Regions from separate parts of the Homo sapiens genome. Here all the other regions are linked to region 1. Evidence: promoter capture Hi-C in 16 types of primary human blood cells and fetal thymus (Javierre and others, 2016). All regions are on one chromosome and are shown on one strand. Each heading gives the region's core, a stretch centred on a gene start or on the middle of the fragment in contact. The rest is flanking DNA. Distances are from core to core; before and after follow the strand shown.

Region 1 (2,782 bases), core at 127-2,626:
AACAGTGCTTGTGAAAGTGGGATTCAAATTCCACAAACACACACATCCACATAATATCTTCCTATATTGCAGGTTGACTCATTTAGAAACATGTTCTTTAAGAAAAGTTTCAGGTATATTACATACATATTTAGCATTATTGTAAAATTATTACATTATTATTGGGTATTTTCAGATAATACGTTTCTGATTGGGTGGTTTGGGGTGGTGGTTGTTTCAAAATTATTTTAAATACCGTAACCTATCTTTTAGTGCTCACGATGAGGGAAACTACGATGTTTATAAAATGGCAGTTTCTTGTTCATCTGAATAAAGACATCTACCAAGGGCAAACTGTAAGAAGCACTGTGGTGTACCTTGGGTTACTTTTTGAATTGCTTTCACACCTGCTTAATTTTATTTGAACAAGATCATAAAACAAAACAAAAATCTCACAGTTCTCAATGCATTCCCTTATCTAGTTGTGATATTACATTCCTTACCATAAACAGTAGCAAACATGTTCTTGTGCAACGTGAAAAAGTAAATGATGTCAGTATTTATTTGCAATACATTGCAGTACACTGAAGTACAGTCAAAACAGAAGGGGGTGTATTAGTAATTTCTCTGACACATTACTTTGGCTCAGATAAAACATTCCGCCTTTGCCTTCAGTAGCCAACTTAGCATTACCGTTTTGATTATATGCAGGCACTTTTTCAAAAAACAGTAAATCAGCATGCTATTTTGTTCGCTGCAGCACTAGGCATCTAATTTACTGAGATTTGGCCACAAGGTGCAATCCTGTTGTTTTCTGGGAGCCCGATTGTAGTAACAGCATGTCCCTTCCAGCCTCTTATTATGGACCCTCCTTGAGGTCAGGAAAGGTCTAAGCTTTACCGCAGTCCCCAGCGTTTGATGCGACCCCGGGATCACGTGGGGAGCTTTAAGAACCCTTCCTAAGAAAGTGACTGATTGATGGCGGGGGAGGGGGTGGGCGCGGGCTTAGTTCCGGGAAAAGGCTGGGGCCCTCGTTGGGAGTGTACAGAAAGATGACTTGAAGAACGTGGGGAGTCGCTCGCAGTTCGGTACGGAGGGGCGGTGGCCGGGGCTGCTGGGTACAAGGGACCGGCAGCGCGCGGAACACCCGCCCCTAATTCCCGCTCCCGTGCGCGCTCCGCCCCCACGCGCGCGCTCCCTCCCGTCAGGCGCGCAGAGAGGCGGGGCGCAGCGCGCACGGAGGTAACAAGGGACGCGGCGGGAAGAGGGCGTGCGCTCCGCCCCGCCCCTTTCGCGGCCTCGCACGCCCCGCCCCCACTCCCTGCGCGTGCTGGGAGCCGGCTGGCAAGGCGTGCGGTGGGCGGGGCGCCGCGCTGACGTTGCCCGGGATGCGGACAGGTTCCGCCGCCTCCAGCGCCGCCGCCGCAGCTGCCGCCGCCGCCGCCTCCGCCTCGCCTGCCACCGGGGTTTGTATGAAAACACCGGGCGGCGGGCGGCGAGGGATCCGCCGTGATCCAGGTGCTGAGCCGGGTGCTGCGGCTCTGCGCGGTCCCCGCCAGCGCCCCATCCTGAGCCGGTGAGCGCCCTGCTGCAGTCCTCATGTCCCGGCCGGCCGTCCCTCTGCTCTCCCCGGGCCGCGGGAGATGCGAGCGACGGCGCCCGGGGGTAGGAGGGGCGACCCCGGATCCCTGCGCCCCTTACCTGACGGGTTGTGTAACGCATGTTACACATGTGACGCGTGAGGGGAACGCACTCGGTCTTGAGGGAAAGCCCTGACGGGGTGGGGCTTTGACTGGGTCTGGAAAACGCCTTCCCCAGTCCCCGGACCCTCGGTGGATCCCCGTCCCAGACCTTGCGGAGGGTATCGGGCGCGGTCTCTGGGCGGAGGCCGCCCTTTCTGCTCAGCCCTTTCTCTCGGGCCCGAGCTCGCGGCGCCGCGGGGAGTCCAGCCGAGGGGCTGCAGGGCCGGGGGCGGGCGCGCCCAGCCCCGCTCTCCCCCGCCCCAGTGGTAGCGGGCCGCTGAATCGCGGGCCCCTGTGCTTCGAGAATTCTAGCGTTCCCGACTGAGCGCCAGCAAGGTGGGATTTGCTGTGACATCGGCGATGGGCACGTTTGCTTCCTCTCGCTGGGTGGTTTGAGCTGAAGTGTGTCTTCTGTTTACAACTTGTCGCCTTGAGCGTTTGGTTTGAACCTGAATCAGATCACCCTGGATGACAGTGCAGAGTTTCCTTAGTGTCTTCCTTCCTGAATTGCGGGTTCTCAATTGCAAGTGTTCAAGGACTGTTGTAACCCAAAGGCTTGCTCGACTCTACCGTTGTTTTACCCCTTGTGCGGTATAAACCTCTTACGAGCACCAGGGCAATTGGAGTTGGTTGGGTTCCTTTCTTGGGCGTTTACTCATTGTAGAATGGAGTTTTCATGCATCATAGTGTAATCGATGTGAATGTTGATAATTTAAAGCCCATTTCCCGTTTTAACATAGCTTACTCAAGTGCCTGAAGATAGCGGAAATTTTCTTTGGCAGTATTAATTCTATGTGGGTTTTTTCCTTCAGGTGTTTAACATTGTAGTTGTGTTTAATTACAATGCATGACAATTTGTAGTTAGAAAGGACCTTAACAGTCTTCTTAATCGGTCATTTTCACTTACCTTTTATGTCCGTTTTTTAAGCTTTATGTAAATCAAATTATCCTTTGTGAACTTCTGAATTATTCTTATAAACTGGTTGTCTGAGAAAACCGGAAAGTTATTTTTGTAATTGTATTGTGGAATGTTTTTAGTTCAGTAGGCCAAAAAAGAAATG
Region 2 (2,700 bases), core at 15-2,514, 1.8 Mb after region 1:
TGGTATAGCTGTGGGTGCCAGGCCAGCTTTTTATCAGGGGCTGCTTTTTTTCCTTTATCAACCTTAAACTTCTCCCTAATTAGCACCAAGGCAAATTAATAGATTTTGTTTCATTCAATTCAGAAATCATGTATTGAGCTTCCTCACAGTGTCCCCTCCCCTGAAGCTGAATGGATAATGGCTTAGTCAGGCTGGCACCCCAGTCTGCCCCAGATGCGGATTTAATGACTGTATATGACCTAGGGGATCAGCTTTGAGGCAACTAGACCTTCCTTTTCCTTGCAACTCTGTGACCCGTCTTTCTCGAGGTGTGCTGTTTTTTGCTTTAGTTTAAAATTTCCAGCTTTTTGGTGGGTGCTATAGTCAAATACAAAACCTAAACAAGTAAGGGAATTGATCTATTCAGGCTATTACAATAGGAAAAGCACTCCAAATCCAAAGATCAGAGTCTCTTGGCAGGGTGGTTTTGCCTTAGACTTTTATAGAGAGGAGTATACAAGTTACAGGTGGAGGACTTACATGTGGGATTGTTTTGCAATCAGAAGTCTCAGTCAGTTGCCAAACAGGAAATATTTATCTCTGTGTCATGCTGGTTTTAGGTGGACAAAGAGTTCTAATAGAGAGACAAAGAATGAGGAATTGGGCTGAGCATGGTGATGCACATCTGTAATCCCACCACTTTGAGAGGCCCACACAGGAGGATTACTTGAGCCCAGGTGTTCAAGACCAGCCTAGGCAACATAGCAAGACCCCGTCTCTACGGAAAAAAAAAAAAAAATTGTAAAAAAGAATGAGGAATTGAAGGGTCTGTGTCTGGTCTTGTCCCACTGGGATGGGATAATCTCATGGGATACCATATACTATGGTGTATGCAGTTCATGGGTGACCAAATCATTGTTATGTGATGCATGCCTGTAATTTGTAAAATTCCTTGCAGGTATACAATTTATTGATTAAACAATTGGAAGTTTGGAGAAATATATTATTGTGCCATTCATCTAAATTTCTCTTTTTTCCATACACTGTGTATCTTTTCCTTTCTTTTATCCCTTTGGGTTAAGGATGTTTTAGTTTTAAATGAAATAAATCAAACTAAAACTAGCATAGTGAAAAAGCAATTGTAGTGATCAACAAAATAAGCCCAGGGATAGAGCTGGCTTTAGCCATGATCATGTAACTAGTTACAGTCTAGGGATTAAAATGCACAAAGACCATACCTCATATTTCTTTTCTTTTCTTTCTTTTTTTTTTGAGATGGAATGTCACTCTTGTTGCCCAAGCTGGAGTGCAATGGTACGATCTTGGCTGAGATCAGGAGAATCACTTGAACCTGGGAGACAGAGGTTGCAGCAAGCTGAGATTGCATCATTGCACTCCAGCACTCCAGCCTGCGCAATAGAGCCAGACTATGTCTCAAAAGAAAAAAAAAAAAGGAAAAGGAAAAGAAAGCACTAATCCAACTTCCTGTCTGGAGACAGGACAAACCTAGGAATTCTCTCCCTTTCTTCGCCATTCCCATTTTGCCACTCTCAAGATAGACTAAGAGTCAGTTGATATAGAATACTAACCTGTATTTGGTTGCAGGAGTAGAATGCAATTATTAAGGCTCAACAGCTTTGTTCCTTTTTTAAAAAAACATAAACATGTTGCTTTGGCCGGGCGTGGTGGCTCACGCCTGTAATCCCAGCACTTTGGGAGGCCGAGGCAGGAGGATCACAAGGTCAGGAGATCAAGACCATCCTGGCTAACACGGTGAAACCTGTCTCTACTAAAAATACAAAAAATTAGCTGGGCGTGGTGGCGGGCACCTGTAGTCCCAGCTACTTGTGAGGTTGAGGCAGGAGAATGGCGTGAACCTGGGAGGCAGAGCTTGCAGTGAGCCGAGATTGCGCCACTGCACTCCAGACTGGGTGACAAAGCGAGACTCCATCTCAAAAAAAAAAAAAGTGTTGCTTTGTTTTTTAGAGGCAGCGTCTCACTCTGTCACCTAAGCTGGAGTGCAGTGGTTTGATCACTGCTCACTGCAGCCTCAACCTCCTGGGCTCAAGCAATTCCCCCACCTCAATCTCCCAAGTAGCTGGGATTACAGGCGTGCACCACCATGCCTGGCTAATTTTTATTTTTTGTAGAGATAGAGTCTCACTAGGTTGCCCAGGCTGGTCTCGAACTCCTGACCTCAAGTAATCCTCCTGCCTCAGCCTCCCAAAGCATGAGCCATTGTGCCCAGCCAAGGCTCAATAACTTTGACGAAGCCTGAGTCAAAGTGAGAAGAAACAAATAGGTCACAATGGTATTTAGAGAGAAGCCTAGAAATACTTTGAGAACCAAAAATAGTATTTTGAAAGCAAGTAAAAAAATATAAAAAAAACTATGAGTTCATAGTTACCCTCCTTCTACCACACACGTGCTCCAAAAAAAGAAACCGTATTGTTTGATTTTGAAGGTTGGTAGGGACCAATTTGTAATTCTGAAAATTGGTAAATAAAAAGGAAAAAAGCATTTATTCTGTTATTCCTGTACTAACTGCATTTCAGGATAATCTGATAGAGGAAAAGCTCTTCTTTATAGAACAATACCAGCTAATAAATGCAAAAAGGAATATTAGAACATTACCATTGTGCAATCCCTAACGAAATAATAGATATGGGAAATGATCCTCAATGGCTTCTAGGTAAAATGTTAATGAGGAACTTTTTTTTT
Region 3 (2,779 bases), core at 208-2,707, 1.8 Mb after region 1:
AATTTCTGCAACTAAGTCAGCTGACATTTTGATAGGTATTGCATTGAGTCTGTAGATAATTTGGGGAATACTGACATATTAATATATCTTTCAATTCATAAACATGAGATGTTTTTTCATTTACATCTTGTGCTTTCTTCTAACAGTATTTTATAGTTTTCAGACTATATGTTTTACACATCTTTTGTTAAATTTATTTCTAAGTATTTTATTCTTTTTGATGCTATTGTAAATGGAATTGTTTTTTACATTTATTTTTAAGAGTGTTCTGCCACAGGAAGGGGAACATCACACATTGGGGCTTGTTGTGGGGTGGGGGAAGGGGGGAGGGATAGCATTAGGAGATATACCTAATGTAAATGACAAGTTAATGGGTGCAGCACACCAACATGGCACATGTATACATATGTAACAAACCTGCACGTTGTGCACATGTACCCTAGAACTTAAAGTATAATAAAATATATATATTTAAAAAAAAAAGAGTGTTCTGTCGTGCGCGGTGGCTCACGCCTGTAATCCCAGCCCTTTGGGAGGCCAAGACAGGCGCATCACGAGGTCAGGAGATCGAGACCGTCCTGGCTAACACGGTGAAACCCCATGTCTACTAAAAATAGAAAAAATTAGCCAGGCATAGTGGCGGGTGCCTGTAGTCCCAGCTACTCTGGAGGCTGAGGCAGGAGAATGGTGTGAACCCGGGAGGTGGAGCTTGCAGTGAGCCCAGATCGCGCCACTGCACTCCAGCCTGAGCGACAGAGCGAGACTCCGTCTCAAAAAAAAAAAAAAAAAAAGTGTTCATTGTAAATGTAGTTACCAATTATTTGTTTATATATATTTTTAGCCAGGAAACTACAGCCATCAATTTAAATTTTAATGTATTAATTCTAGCAGAGATCTTCAGAAATAAGTACAACATAATATTTAGAAGTAGAAAAAGCAGTTTTTCTGTTAGTTTTGATTATTTTTGAATACAAATTTAGTTTTAAATTTATGTTGACTTATTGAAATTCTTAAAACTATTTTCATGGATTTATTTCTAATAATTGTGGCAAAGAGGAGATGCTATTTTTCAATGCATAGCTATAAAATCTAGTACTAATGTTTGTTTTTAACACATGTACAGGCTGGGCACGGTGGCTCACGCCTGTAATCCTGGCACTTGGGAGGCCGAGGCGGGCGGGTCACCTGAGGTTCGGAGCTTGAGACCAGCCTGGCCAATATGGTGAAACCCTGTCTCTACTAAAAATACAAAAATTAGCTGGGTGTGGTGGCGGGCGCCTGTAACCCCAGCTACTCGAGAGGCCTGAGGCAGGAGAATCACTTGAACCTGGTAGGCAGAGGTTGCAGAGAGCCGAGATCTCACCACTGCGTTCCAGCCTAGACTCCATCTCAAAAAACAAAAAAACGTGTGTACAGTTCCTTACTTATCTCCTTGCCTTAATTTTCTAACTCCCTGGTTATTTAATATTTAGATTAATGAACTGGGAAACATTATTACTGTAGAAATAAAGGCCCAATGGAATCCCATGTACTTATCACCTAGCTTCATCATTTATCAACTCATGGACCCCACACCTAGATTATTTTGAAGCAAACCCAAGACATACTAGTTTGTCTACAAATTTACGATGTATTTTACAAGACAGGCTTACTCTTTGTAACTGTGTTGTATTGGAACAAAACCTGTTCTAATTGACTTTGCTTTAGAAGGTGGTTAGTTTATTGGGATACAAGGAATCAGTAATTAAAATTTGCTTTTTATTTTTGTTGCACAGGAATCCAGATCTTACATAAGATGGAAGTCTCTCACACTAGATACTGAACATTAAATAGAAAATCTATTTAGTAAAATCTAAGTTGCCATGGAAGAAATACCAGTAAAAGTTGCTGTAAGAATTAGACCTCTGCTTTGCAAAGAAGCTCTTCATAATCATCAAGTTTGTGTGAGAGTTATTCCAAACAGCCAGCAAGTTATCATTGGGAGAGATAGAGTCTTCACTTTTGATTTTGTTTTTGGCAAAAATTCCACTCAAGATGAAGTTTATAACACATGTATAAAGCCCCTAGTGTTGTCACTCATTGAGGGCTATAATGCAACTGTTTTTGCCTATGGACAAACTGGATCTGGGAAGACATACACCATTGGAGGGGGCCATATTGGTAAGATTCTTATACTCTTTGACTTTTATTTGTGACGCTAGAAAGAAGCAAAAATATGACCAATACCTGACACATGGTAGGTGTTTAGCATATTGATTGAATAGTGAAGGAATGAATCATGTAATCAAATGTGATCATAAGATCATCATCTTTGAAAGATTCGTTTTTAAATATTGAAGTTTCATTAAGCAATCTAACTTAGGATTATATTTGCTTGAGGAAAGAAGTTTAAAATAGTTTTCAGTGGTCAGCCCTTGTTATTTTGAACAGAATTTAAAATAGAGATAAATGAGTTAACATGATTAGATTTTGCATTCTTTAACAAGCCAGTTGTAAATATTAAGAGTCCCGCAATCAGGACTTAGGGACCGTAGGAAAAATTTATTATGTAAAGTATCTTTTCTTTTTCATATTCTAGCCAGATTTCTTTTTTAAATTCTGAATATTTTAGGACATAATTTCTCCTGCTTATAATTGTAGTTTGGAAAAGATGGAATCATAGGATCTCATATAGAGCTGAAGGGAACCTTGGAAATCATTTTAGTTAAGTGTCTGGTAATAGAGTGGGGGAATTGACAGCCAAGTCCTCTGTTAAGATTGTTTACTGTATTTATATTTT
Region 4 (2,700 bases), core at 174-2,673, 1.8 Mb after region 1:
TTGCCGTTGTATTTGTAAACTTTAGAGATGTCACATAAGATCGCTTCAAGCATGAGTCGAAAGAAATAGGAAAGCAATTGGAAGTTTTAATATAAAATTAGTTTTCCCAGTGAATAAGATGCATTGTAACTTTTCATAAATGTATGCTTTGTGGATGACATTTATCTTTTCAGGGTTTTGGGAATGTGCCGTATAAAACAATTCATTGCTGTGGTGGGACTTAATCCAGTGGCTAAAAGTTATTGTTCTAACTTAGCAAAAAATGAAACCAGGCTCCCTTGAATTTTGTATTTTTTAGGCAGTCATTTGAATTGTGAAACCCTAAAATGAAGAATCAAGTTTTAGAAACAGCTGGTTTTTTGGGTTCAAATCAGTATTCACTGTGATCGGAAACAAATATTCAGTAATAAGAATAAACAAAAGCAAAACTGATTTGTGTTGGTTCTTATAGGCTACTGCAGCACTGGGGTGTCAGTTGTTGGTCCGACCCAGAACGCTTCAGTTCTGCTCTGCAAGGATATATAATAACTGGTACGTTCTAGAAGCAATGTCTTTTTTTTTTTTTTTTTTTTACAGCTTGCTTTCCAATAAGCCAAATGTACTAGCTGCTTTATTTTTCCACAGATTGGTGTGCCCGTTTAATAAAAGAATATGGAAACTGAACAGCCAGAAGAAACCTTCCCTAACACTGAAACCAATGGTGAATTTGGTGAGAAGAAATTTTAGTTTTAACAGTATTTTTTTATCCTGTTAATAAATTGCCTTTTTCTGTTAATTATTGCCTTAGGAGTGTGTGGTGAATTTTTGGTATTACTGTTTATGTAATTCTGCGATTATCAGTAGTTACATCTTAGCTTTTATTTATGAAGTAGAAGTAACTGATTTGCATATAAAGAATTTTTCTTGCATTTTGGGATTTCAAATCCTTTGAAGTATTTTGTGGCAGTATTTTGTGTTTGGTGCATTTTACTAGATGGAAGCATAACGTTCAAGTCTGTAGCAATGCCTTTGGTCTTTTCAAAACATGCCTAAGATTAGCAACAAGTCTCTTGAAACAGAATGGAGTTACTTTGGAGACTTCGCTGCTTTCTTTGAAATGTGAACTGTTAATTTTTAGGTAAACGCCCTGCAGAAGATATGGAAGAGGAACAAGCATTTAAAAGATCTAGAAACACTGATGAGATGGTTGAATTACGCATTCTGCTTCAGAGCAAGGTATAAATTTTATTCTTGAAAATTTGAAGGTGGTTCATACTCAGGTAGAAATTAAGGTCTGGTTTGGCTTTCTAGAAAGTCAAAGTTTTACAGATTGAAGAATATAAAACATTTGGTTCTTTCTAAACAGACTTGAAGGCTCTGGTGGTTTTCTTATTCCACTAACAGTTAAGATTAAAGCCCTTGCTGTAGTGAACCGCCACTACAGGTCAAACTAGGAGGAGAGTGTGATTCTTAAAGTGTTAATAGATTAAATCTTAATTATGTGTGGACTCCTTAGGAAACTGCTTGGTTGGCAGTTTATTGTTTGATCACAGGTCACAATATGAAGGTACCTACTAATACTAAATTAATTGACTTATTTTACCAAAGGGTGCTATAAAATCTGTGCTTAGTTTTATTTTATACTTGGTGTTATTTCTGACATTGAGTACTCCAAACTATCTAGTCCTCACAGCACTTAGAATTATATTTTGATTTTTGGTTTGGTTTTGGCCTGGTCGTTTTTACAACCCCAAATAGATTTTTATTCTTATAACAAACAGGTTAGAGGATTTTTTAGCAAAATCTAAGAGCGTAGGTAGCTATTAATTTTAGGGAAAGGCAAAATAATTTTTTGTCTTTGTATCTTCTCCAGAATGCTGGGGCAGTGATTGGAAAAGGAGGCAAGAATATTAAGGCTCTCCGTACAGACGTAAGTATTAAGAGTTTAAACTACTACACGAGCAGCTTCAGTTTATATGTCTATAGAAATTTAAAGATTTACATCCTAGAAATCATTTCATAGTTTAGCTACAAAGACATTTGTAATAATTTATTATTACAGAATTGATTTCGAAGTTATCCATTCCTGTTTTAACAAAAGCCCAGATTGAGCAGGGTGGGGGGGTGGTTTCTTTCAAACCTCTTCACATTTTAATAAGAGTCCACCAAATTATTCACTTCATCAAGCAAGATAACATCTTAATTAGAAATAGCGACAAAGTGTAAAAATCCTTGATTGCACCATTTCCTGTGTGTGAATCAATTACAGTATTACTGAAAACCATTGCAGGTGGCTGGTTAAATCCAGAAAAATTTTTTTGTTTTCTTTGGGAAGAAAAATGTCCATCTGTTCTTTAACAGCTTGCACATGGAGCACAAAGAATTTAATGTTGAGGTTGCATGATTTAAATATGGGTAAAGAATAGAGTAGGCACTTAATCTTATAATTGGGAAACTGTTCGTCAATGCCTATGATTTGTTTGAGTCTTCATTTTACAGTGGGTTGACTCTTGTGATTAGACACATTAAATGTTGGCAGTGCCAGAAGTGAGCACATTTATAGGACTTGGCTACACCAAAATTTCTAAATTTTTTTTCTCATAGTGTACACATTTCTTAATGTTTTTCTTGCTAAAAATGAGGCAAATAACTTTGTGTCGAGTACTTATTTGACAGTATTTCATTTCTCTCTTGGTCGCAGATCTTTGTATGTTCCTCTTG
Region 5 (2,700 bases), core at 73-2,572, 1.7 Mb before region 1:
ACCTGAAAATAGACAGCAAGATGCCGCTTTGCAAGGACATTATTCAATGGTTATAAACACGCAAATACCCTAATAAAGCATTTGTTAATTGGCACTGAAGGGTTATGCTTTGCCTATTATAAATAGGATGTGACCTCAAAGAGGTCATGTGAGGATCTAGCAATGGAAGTTTTCAATTGGTCCCTTTGCCTTTATGTATATAATTTCCCATTGTCCTGCCTTCCCCTGGAGGTGTCCAAACCAGTATTTACAGGGATGGGGATGTGATCCACCACTTAATTTTAATGGACAAACATATATGAGTTACATTTATGCTTTGGTCCCACGATAAGAAGATATGATTACCTAGGCGGACATTAAGTTTCTTTTCTAACATCACCTCTTGCAGTCTCATGTTTTATTAACAGTTATGACTGCTGAGGTCTTAACTTTCCCTGTTTCATGTTTTCTTCAACAAGACTCCTGTTTAATCCGGCAGGCAGAACATGAGGGGAGACTTCCTTGGAGCTGTCTCCAAAGGTTGTCCCGAGTGACAGAATGCTGTATTTGGTTTGGTTAAAAATTAAATGCCATGTCATTGTCAAAGTGGCAACATGACCTCACCACCTTCACAATGTGGGTGAATCTCTAAAAACTGGTGGTCCCTTAACATTGGTGAACAAGAGAAGTGAAAGGGGAAGTGAAGAAAGTACTACTGGAGTCGTCTTCCTGGGCTAAGAATGGTCACGTGGCCAAGGAAACTTGCAGTGGCCCAGCCACCACAGAAACCACACACTCCTGGGTGCTCTCCTGCCTGGTGTTACTCATGGCTCCAGAGTCCTGGGGGAGAGGGGAGAGAGAGAGATGCACTCTGATATCAGCTATGCTGTAAGAATCTCAGCCCGGAGCGGTGGCTCATGCCTATAATCCCAGGACTTTAGGAGGCCGAGGTGGGTGGATTACTTGAGGTCAGGAGTTTGAGACCAGCCTGGCCAATAGGGTGAAACCCCGTCTCCACTAAAAATACAAAACCGGCTGGGCGCAGTGGCTCACGCCTGTAATCCCAGCACTTTGGGAGGCCGAAGCGGGTGGATCATGAGGTCAGGAGATCGAGACCATCCTGGCTAACACGGTGAAACCCCGTCTCTACTAAAAATACAAAAAATTAGCCAGGCGTGGTGGCGGGCACCTGTAGTCCCAGCTACTCGGGAGGCTGAGGCAGGAGAATGGCGTGAACCCGGGAGGCAGAGCTTGCAGTGAGCCGAGATCCTGCCACTGCATGCCAGCCTGGGCAACAGAGCGAGACTCTATCTCAAAAAAAAAAAAAAAAAAATACAAAACCTAGCTGAGCATGGTGGTACACCCCTGTAATCCCAGCTACTCGGGAGGCTGAGGCAGGAGAATCACTTGAACCCAGGAGGCGGAGGTTGCAGTGAGCCAAGATCATGCCACTGCACTCCAGCCTGGGCAAAAAGCGAGACTCCATCTCAAAAAAATTAAAAAAGAAAAAAGAATCTATCATATTCATCTACAGATAACATTTTTATATATAAACATTCTAGGGGCAGAACTAACAAAATAGAATCATATCTATGCAAAGGCTTTTGTAAAATGTAAGGTATCCCGCATTTGCAAACTGCAGCTAATTACTTACCTTTACTCCTGCCGTCTCCTGTCTTCTCCATCTCCTTAAAGCTGGTAAAACTAGGATACTCCCCCTTCACCTCCTCTCTCACACCCCCACTCCAGCACCAGGCTGGGCTGCACTCCCTGAACTGTGAGTCTGTGACCCGGGCGGTCCTGCTGGGCTTCCAGGGGCTTCCCTGAGCTTCCTGGTTATCAAACTGACCTAGGAGAGGGTGCAGCAGAGCACGGGCCACACGCGACCCCTCTAGCACCCAAAGCCCCCAGGTTGGCTCCTGCTCTGTGTGGGCTGGCCCTTTGACAGCCTCGCCTTCAGTCTTATTTGCATTCTGTTGTGAAGCAAAGATTCATCTTCCAGGCCCTGTTCTCCCCATTGCCCCTGAAATGGGGGTCTTGCCCTGAGCCCTATCTTGGGATGGCAGCTCTGATACTCTTGCCTAGTTTTTCAAAGCCCTGCTCCCAGGAGAGGGAGATGTTTATTTTCCTGGGATGGTGCTGTGGTGTGGCCCCTAACCCAGGTCCCCTTCAGGGATTGCAGGCTTCACTTCCTCAGCTAGCTGTGGGAAGTGCTCTTGGGACAACACCCTTAGCTGTCAGCCCACTGTGGGACTTGCCCCAGCTGAAGAGAGCCTTCTGGCCCAAGGCCAGGTCCCCTAGCTGGAGCAGGCTGCATCCACTGGAGGTGGTCTCCTGAATTTGACACAACTCTGAATGGGTTATCGCAGCTCTAAAGCTCCTGGAGGGGTTGTCTGTAGCCTTCATCATGGCTGCTCCACTTTGCCCTCTGCCAATCCTATCTCCTGTCCTTCCCTTCCTCAAGTATTAATCCCAAGGGCACTCACTAATTAACCTCTTGCACACCAGTCTCCCCCAGACCTTGACCTCCAGATCTTCTGAAATGACAACCTCTGCTTACCTGTGTTCACATCTTCAGAGCCACCTGGATTCCTACCTGGATTGCCCACCTGGTTGGCCACCCACTTTTCAAGTAATTCTTGAAATTAGACCGAGTTCTATTACTTTAAATATGTAGAAGAAGATAAGCGTACTGAGGTTTTATGTACAAGCTGAAGGAAG
Region 6 (2,791 bases), core at 103-2,602, 1.9 Mb before region 1:
AAGGTAACCATCACAACCCCTCAGATGCCTGGGTGGTGAAGAGGCAAAAATAGTCAGCTCCTAGGGGACACTAGAATTTATGAAGAGCAAATAACCAGGGACCTGTCTAGCCCTGTGAAGGATGTGGCCAGCTCCTAAGGGCCCTCCCGCTCACTCCATCTAAAAGCTGTTCCTAGTGAGATCGCTCAGCTTTCATTTAGGGTCATCATGCAGTTAACAATGTAAAGCTGTATGCCAAGATGCAACTATTAGAAAGCCTACAATTGAAAAACAGTACAGAGCCCCACTGGTGGAGCAATCGGAATTCTCATCCATTGCTGCAGGGACTGTAAAACGGTATGCTCACTTTAGAAGACAGCTTGGCAGTTTCTCATAAAGTTGAACATACATTTACTACACGATCCAGCAATCCCAAGATCTCTAGGTATTTACTGAAGAGAAATAAAAACCTATGCCCACACACAAGTCTGTATGGGAATGTTTGTAGCAGTTTTACTCCTAATTATCAAATACCAGAAACAACCCAAATGGGTGAATGGTTTATAAAAAATCCATACAATGAAATACTACTCAGTAATAAAAACGGACTCACTCTTCATGCACAAATCTCCAATGCATTATGCTGAGTGAAAGAAGCTACTTTCAAACACTTGCATACTGTATGATTCTATTCACTGGACATTTTCAAAACAACAAAACAGTAGTGATATGGTTTGGCTCCGTGCCTCCATCCAAATCTCATGTCGGATTATAATTCCCAATGTTGGAAGAGGGGCCTGGTGGGAGGTGAATGAATCATAGGGGTGAACTTCCCCCTTGCTGATCTCCTGATAGAGTTCTCAGGAGATCTGGTTGTCTCAAAGTGTGTAGCACTTCCCCCTTCTCTCTCTCTTCCTCCTGCCGGTCATGTGAGGATGGCTCTTGCTTCCCCTTTACCTTCTGCCATCATTGTAAGTTTCCTGAGGCCTCCCCAGCCATGCTTCCTGTACAGCCTGCAGAACCATGAGTCAATTGAATCTCTTTTCTTCACAAATTACCCAGTCTCAGGTCTGCCTTTATAGCAGTGTGAGAATGGACTAATACAAACAGTGATGAAGACCAGCTCAGGGCTTGCCAGGGGTTAGGCAGTAGAGGGCAGGCATGAAGGGGTAGTATTAATACAAGGGGTACTGGAGTATGTAGGGGTATGGGAACTGTTCTGAGTCCCAATTAGACTGCTGGTTACATGATTTACATGTGTTAACTTTCATAGAATGACACAACCCTCCTCCAACACTATATTTGCTGTATTATAAATAAAATTTTTACATAATCAAATGGTAAAAAAAAATAATTGTATGCCACCCAATTTAGGCACAGAGTAAATGCACCTAATGGGAACTATCTATGAATTGGGGTCAGACAACAGATGTTGAATGCACAATATGTACACGCAGAGAGGCACAAGAGGGGCAGTGACTCATAGGCATCGCTCAAATATTTTAGTATGAAATGAGGATAAGTGGCATTCTTGAGTCACTGGGCACAACCTGGGAATTATCTGAAAAGGCAGAATAGTTGTGATTTGTTATGTTTCTTTTTCCAGGCACTTTGTATGCACTGTCTTAAGGCAGGAAATGTAGGCTTAAAGACAAGAAAGGATTTGCCCTGGATTTTGATCCCAGTTCTGTCTGGTTCCCCAGCCCCCATCTTCACTCTAGGCTGCTGTCTCCCAGGAGCCACATAAAGCCACAGTGAGGATTACACCATGATTTGTCCTTTTTCCTCTGTTGTACCCTAAGCAAGTCCTTAATCTCCTGGCCCCTTAAAGCTCTGTTCTTCCTTTAAAGCCAGAGTTCTCAGTTACGAGGGTGGGAGGGTACAGGGGAAGCAGGAGATTTTGCCCCCAGGGTACATGTGGCAATGTCTGGATATATTTTTAGTTGTCACAACATGGGGGAAGAGTGCTACTGGAATCTAGTAGGTAGAAGCCAGAGATGCTGCTAAACATTCTACAATGTTTAGGACAGCCTGAAGGAAGAGTGATTCAGCCCAAAATGTCACTTGTGCCAAGATTGAGAACTGCTGATTTGGAAGGGGGGAGAAAGGGAGGAAGGAAGGAGAGAGGAAGGGAGGGAAGGAGAAAAAGGAGGGAGGGAGGGAGGGAGGAAGGAAGGAAAGAAGGAAGGAAGGAGAGAGGGAGGGAGGGAGAGAGAGAGGGAGGAAGGAAGGAAGGAAGGAGAGAGGGAGGGACAGGGAGAGAGAGGGAGGAAGGAAGGAAGGAGAGATGGAGGGAGGGAGAAAAGGAGGGAGAGAGAGAGGGAGGGAGGGAGGGAGGAAGGAAGGAAGGAAGGAAGGGGAGACGGAGGGAGGGAGAGAGGGAGAGAGGGAGGGAGGGGGGAAGGAAGGAAGGAAGGAAGGAGAGAGGGAGGGAGGGAGAGACAGAGGGAGGAAGGAAGGGAAAGAGAGAGAGGAAGGAAGGGAGGGAGGGAGCATATTAATGTCATCTACCAACCAGCACAGTGTTAGGTATTTAAAAATTCTTATCTCATTTATCTCCCCATAAACCATCTGAGATATTATTAACCCCATTTTATGGTTAAGAAATTTGTAGCTGAGACCCATAAAGAAATGTGCCCAAATCCCAGTGATGAGACAAGATGCTGTGGGGACCGCAGGCACCTGGGATTGCAAAGTGGAGGTACCTGCAGGGTGGCGCCTGGGAGCTGGCCTGGCAGCTCTGCCAACCTTCTCCTCTGGTCTTGAAAATCTCTTCTTACCCCTAAGGTATCTGCAAAGAAGGAGGCCGTTG
Region 7 (2,700 bases), core at 120-2,619, 1.8 Mb after region 1:
AACATTCCAAACTCAGTAAGGAGAGAGTAGGAAGAGCTTTCAATGACACTAAGAAAACCAGGAAAATATAAATGCCCTGCAAGCCAATGGACAATTTCAAGGAAGTGCTCAATCTTAAATGCTAAATATGGATAAATCAAGAAGAAAAGGAACAGAAAAATTACACTGTAGTGAGCCATATCTCTTTTCTGCTATGGCTTCATGGGGATTCAGTCTGTCATTTTGTGTATATAAAAAGAAATAAAAATAAGAGATGTCTTACCTCCACAAAATCCATTTCACTTCTATGCATAACTCTTTGAGCACATATGGGAAACTATGTCCTCCCACTAGCGATGTCTATTGTCCATCCACTGCTCTAGGCAACTTTTGCAACTTCCTCTGTTGCCCAGGCTGGAGTGCAGTGGCACGAACACAGCTCACTGCAGCCTCGACCTCTTGGGCTCAAGCGATCCTCTTGCCTCAGGCGCCTAAGAAGCTGAGACTATAGGCACATGCCACCACACCTAGATAATTTTTTTTATTGTTTTTTGTACAGACAGGGTCTCACTATGTTGTTGAGGTTGGTCTCAAACCCCTGAGCTCAAATGATCAGCCCGCCTCGGCCTCCCAAAGTGCTGGGATTACAGGCATGAGCCACCACACCTGGCCGACCCTCCATTTCTTTAATGCTATAGCCTATCATAGAAAATAGAAGATATAGCAATAATCATTCCCAAGAGCTTGACATGTAATTTAGCTAATCAAAAATGATGACTCTCTTGATGACTGGAATAATCTAACTTGGATACTGTTCAAGGGGGGGAAAGTTATATGGACACATCATTGATCATGTCTTCCTCCTTTGTTAACCTTTAAAATGCAAGCTTAGAGGTTATTTAGAGGTCATCACTATCTCTTCAAAAGCCTACCCCTGCAAGGCATAGTAGCTCACGCCTGTAATCCCAGCACTTTGTGAGGCCGAGGCAGGCGGATTACTTGAGCCCAGGAGTTCGAAGCCAACCTGGGCAACACAGCAGACCCCATCTCTACAAAAAAATTAAAAATTAGCTGGGTGCAATGGTACATGCCTGTAGTCCCAGCTACTCAGGAGGATCACTTGAGCTGGGGAGGTCAAGGCTGCAGTGAGCTATGACTGCACCACTGCACTCCAGTCTGTGTGACAGAGTAAGACCCTGTTTCAAATAAATAAATAAAGCCTATGCCTACAGGGTACAGCTTCTGCCAAAGATTTATCTATCTCTATCAGGAGATAGAGACCATCCTGGCTAACATCGTGAAACCCCCGTCTCTACTAAAAAAATACAAAATATTAGCCGGGCATGGTGGCGGGAGCCTGTAATCCCAGCTACTCGGGAGGCTGAGGCAGGAGAGAATGGCCTGAACCCGGGAGGCGGAGGTTGCAGTGAGTGGAGATCGCGCCATTGCACTCCAGCCTAGGCGACAGAGCGAGACTCCGTCTCAAAAAAAAAAAAAAAAACCAAAGTCGGGTGTGGTGGCTCATGCCTGTAATCCCAGCACTTTGGGAGGCCGAGGTGGGCAGATCATGAGGTCAGGAGATCGAGACCATCCTGGCTAACCGGGCATGGTGGCGGCTGATAGAACCGGGGCGGGGGGGCGGCGGGGGGCTGAGGCAGGAGAATGGCGTGAACCCGGGAGGCGGAGCTTGCAGTGAGCCGAGATCGGGCCACTGCACTCTAGCCTGGGCGACAGAGCGAGACTCCATCTCAAACAAAACAAAACCAAAAAACAAACTCAGGTTGCCATCAAAAGGACTGCAGCAATTCCAGGCCTTACATTCAAGGTCAATCAGGTCCAGAGGGAGCCTGAATCACTTCTGAAAATTCTCCTGGAAGAGTGAGGAAAAGCTTTTCTGCAAGCATTCTGCAAATCTTGCAACTCACTGAGGTGAACTGGGAAATATGCATAAACCTAATCCAGTTGCTGGCAAGAGGGTGATATTACCAGTCCTGACTACCCTTGAGTCTGAGGATGCTAAACTAAGCTACAAGGGAGTGCAGTTGAGAGATGGATTCCTAAACAGTATCACAGTATCTATTGGGAAGGAAAAAGCAGGAAAACCATGTTCAGTAGGTGAAGAACTCACTTTTTTTTTTTTTTTTTTTGAGACAGTGGGTTGCCCAGATTGGAGTGCGGTGGTGCCATTTCAGCTCACTGCAACCTCCGCCTCCCAGGCTCAAGGGATCCTCCCACCTCAGCCTCTGGGAGTAGCTGGGACTACAGGCTCCAGCCACCTGGCTAATGTTTTCTTTTTCTTTTTTTTTTTTTGTAGAGACAGGGTTTTGTCATGTTGCCCAGGATGGTCTCGAATTCCTGGGCTCAAGTGATCCTTGGCCTGCTAAAGTGCTGGGATTACAGGCCTGAGTCACCACGGCCAGCCCAACTCATTTTTGTATTCTCAGCATCTTGTAGACACACTTAAAAAAACAAAAACAAAAATCCCAGACACACACAGTTTTGATTTATCTCAAAGTTGAGTGAAGGAGGCATGTTTTATTCTTGTGTATACTACTTTTAGTGCTTAAATACCTTGAACATAGGCAGGAATTTGACTTTTTGGGTGGGAGGGGGAACGGGGGGGGGTCTCACTTTTTCTCACAGTCTGGAGTGCAGTGGCACAATCTCACCTCACTGGAATCTCTCTGCCTCCTGGGCTCAGACGATCCTCCCACCTCAGCC

Evidence for each region. Contacts are between HindIII fragments. The CHiCAGO score rates a contact against its expected background, and 5 or more counts as called.
Region 2: a fragment that was not itself captured here is called in contact with the fragment with the promoter of AGTPBP1 in region 1 in 2 of 17 cell types (neutrophils and M0 macrophages); the score reaches 7.5 in neutrophils.
Region 3: a fragment that was not itself captured here is called in contact with the fragment with the promoter of AGTPBP1 in region 1 in 1 of 17 cell types (naive CD4 T cells); the score reaches 6.1 in naive CD4 T cells.
Region 4: a contact is called between a fragment that was not itself captured here and the fragment with the promoter of AGTPBP1 in region 1, in 11 of 17 cell types (fetal thymus, total B cells, total CD4 T cells and 8 more). The highest score is 14.4, in fetal thymus.
Region 5: a contact is called between a fragment that was not itself captured here and the fragment with the promoter of AGTPBP1 in region 1, in 1 of 17 cell types (monocytes). The highest score is 5.1, in monocytes.
Region 6: a contact is called between a fragment that was not itself captured here and the fragment with the promoter of AGTPBP1 in region 1, in 2 of 17 cell types (monocytes and fetal thymus). The highest score is 7.1, in monocytes.
Region 7: a fragment that was not itself captured here is called in contact with the fragment with the promoter of AGTPBP1 in region 1 in 3 of 17 cell types (non-activated CD4 T cells, total B cells and fetal thymus); the score reaches 6.9 in non-activated CD4 T cells.

Annotation. Positions count from the first base shown.
Region 1 is chr9:85,740,548-85,743,329 of GRCh38, reverse strand. AGTPBP1 (ATP/GTP binding carboxypeptidase 1) reads left to right here and starts at 1,376. Exons shown (of 26, transcript NM_001330701.2): 1 at 1,376-1,555. RefSeq lists silencers at 1,053-1,652, 1,723-2,042 and an enhancer at 2,213-2,362. The HindIII fragment of the contact is 1,776 bases long and covers 876-2,651 here.
Region 2 is chr9:83,932,640-83,935,339 of GRCh38, reverse strand. No RefSeq gene overlaps it. Among named protein-coding and RNA genes, the nearest start is that of KIF27, 13 kb to the right of the region's middle. The HindIII fragment of the contact is 7,420 bases long and covers 1-2,700 here.
Region 3 is chr9:83,914,675-83,917,453 of GRCh38, reverse strand. It overlaps KIF27 (kinesin family member 27), which reads left to right. Exons shown (of 18, transcript NM_017576.4): 2 at 1,776-2,160. The coding sequence starts at 1,863. Among named protein-coding and RNA genes, the nearest start is that of KIF27, 5.4 kb to the left of the region's middle. The HindIII fragment of the contact is 6,796 bases long and covers 1-2,779 here.
Region 4 is chr9:83,976,204-83,978,903 of GRCh38, reverse strand. HNRNPK (heterogeneous nuclear ribonucleoprotein K) reads left to right here. Exons shown (of 17, transcript NM_031263.4): 2 at 452-531; 3 at 625-709; 4 at 1,118-1,215; 5 at 1,853-1,909. The coding sequence starts at 652. Among named protein-coding and RNA genes, the nearest start is that of HNRNPK, 2.7 kb to the left of the region's middle. The HindIII fragment of the contact is 3,362 bases long and covers 1-2,700 here.
Region 5 is chr9:87,477,970-87,480,669 of GRCh38, reverse strand. No RefSeq gene overlaps it. Among named protein-coding and RNA genes, the nearest start is that of DAPK1, 19 kb to the left of the region's middle. The HindIII fragment of the contact is 2,760 bases long and covers 1-2,700 here.
Region 6 is chr9:87,606,122-87,608,912 of GRCh38, reverse strand. The region is part of intron 3 of DAPK1 (death associated protein kinase 1); the gene reads right to left. Among named protein-coding and RNA genes, the nearest start is that of DAPK1-IT1, 54 kb to the right of the region's middle. The HindIII fragment of the contact is 4,147 bases long and covers 1-2,791 here.
Region 7 is chr9:83,958,871-83,961,570 of GRCh38, reverse strand. No RefSeq gene overlaps it. Among named protein-coding and RNA genes, the nearest start is that of QNG1, 3.5 kb to the right of the region's middle. The HindIII fragment of the contact is 1,002 bases long and covers 869-1,870 here.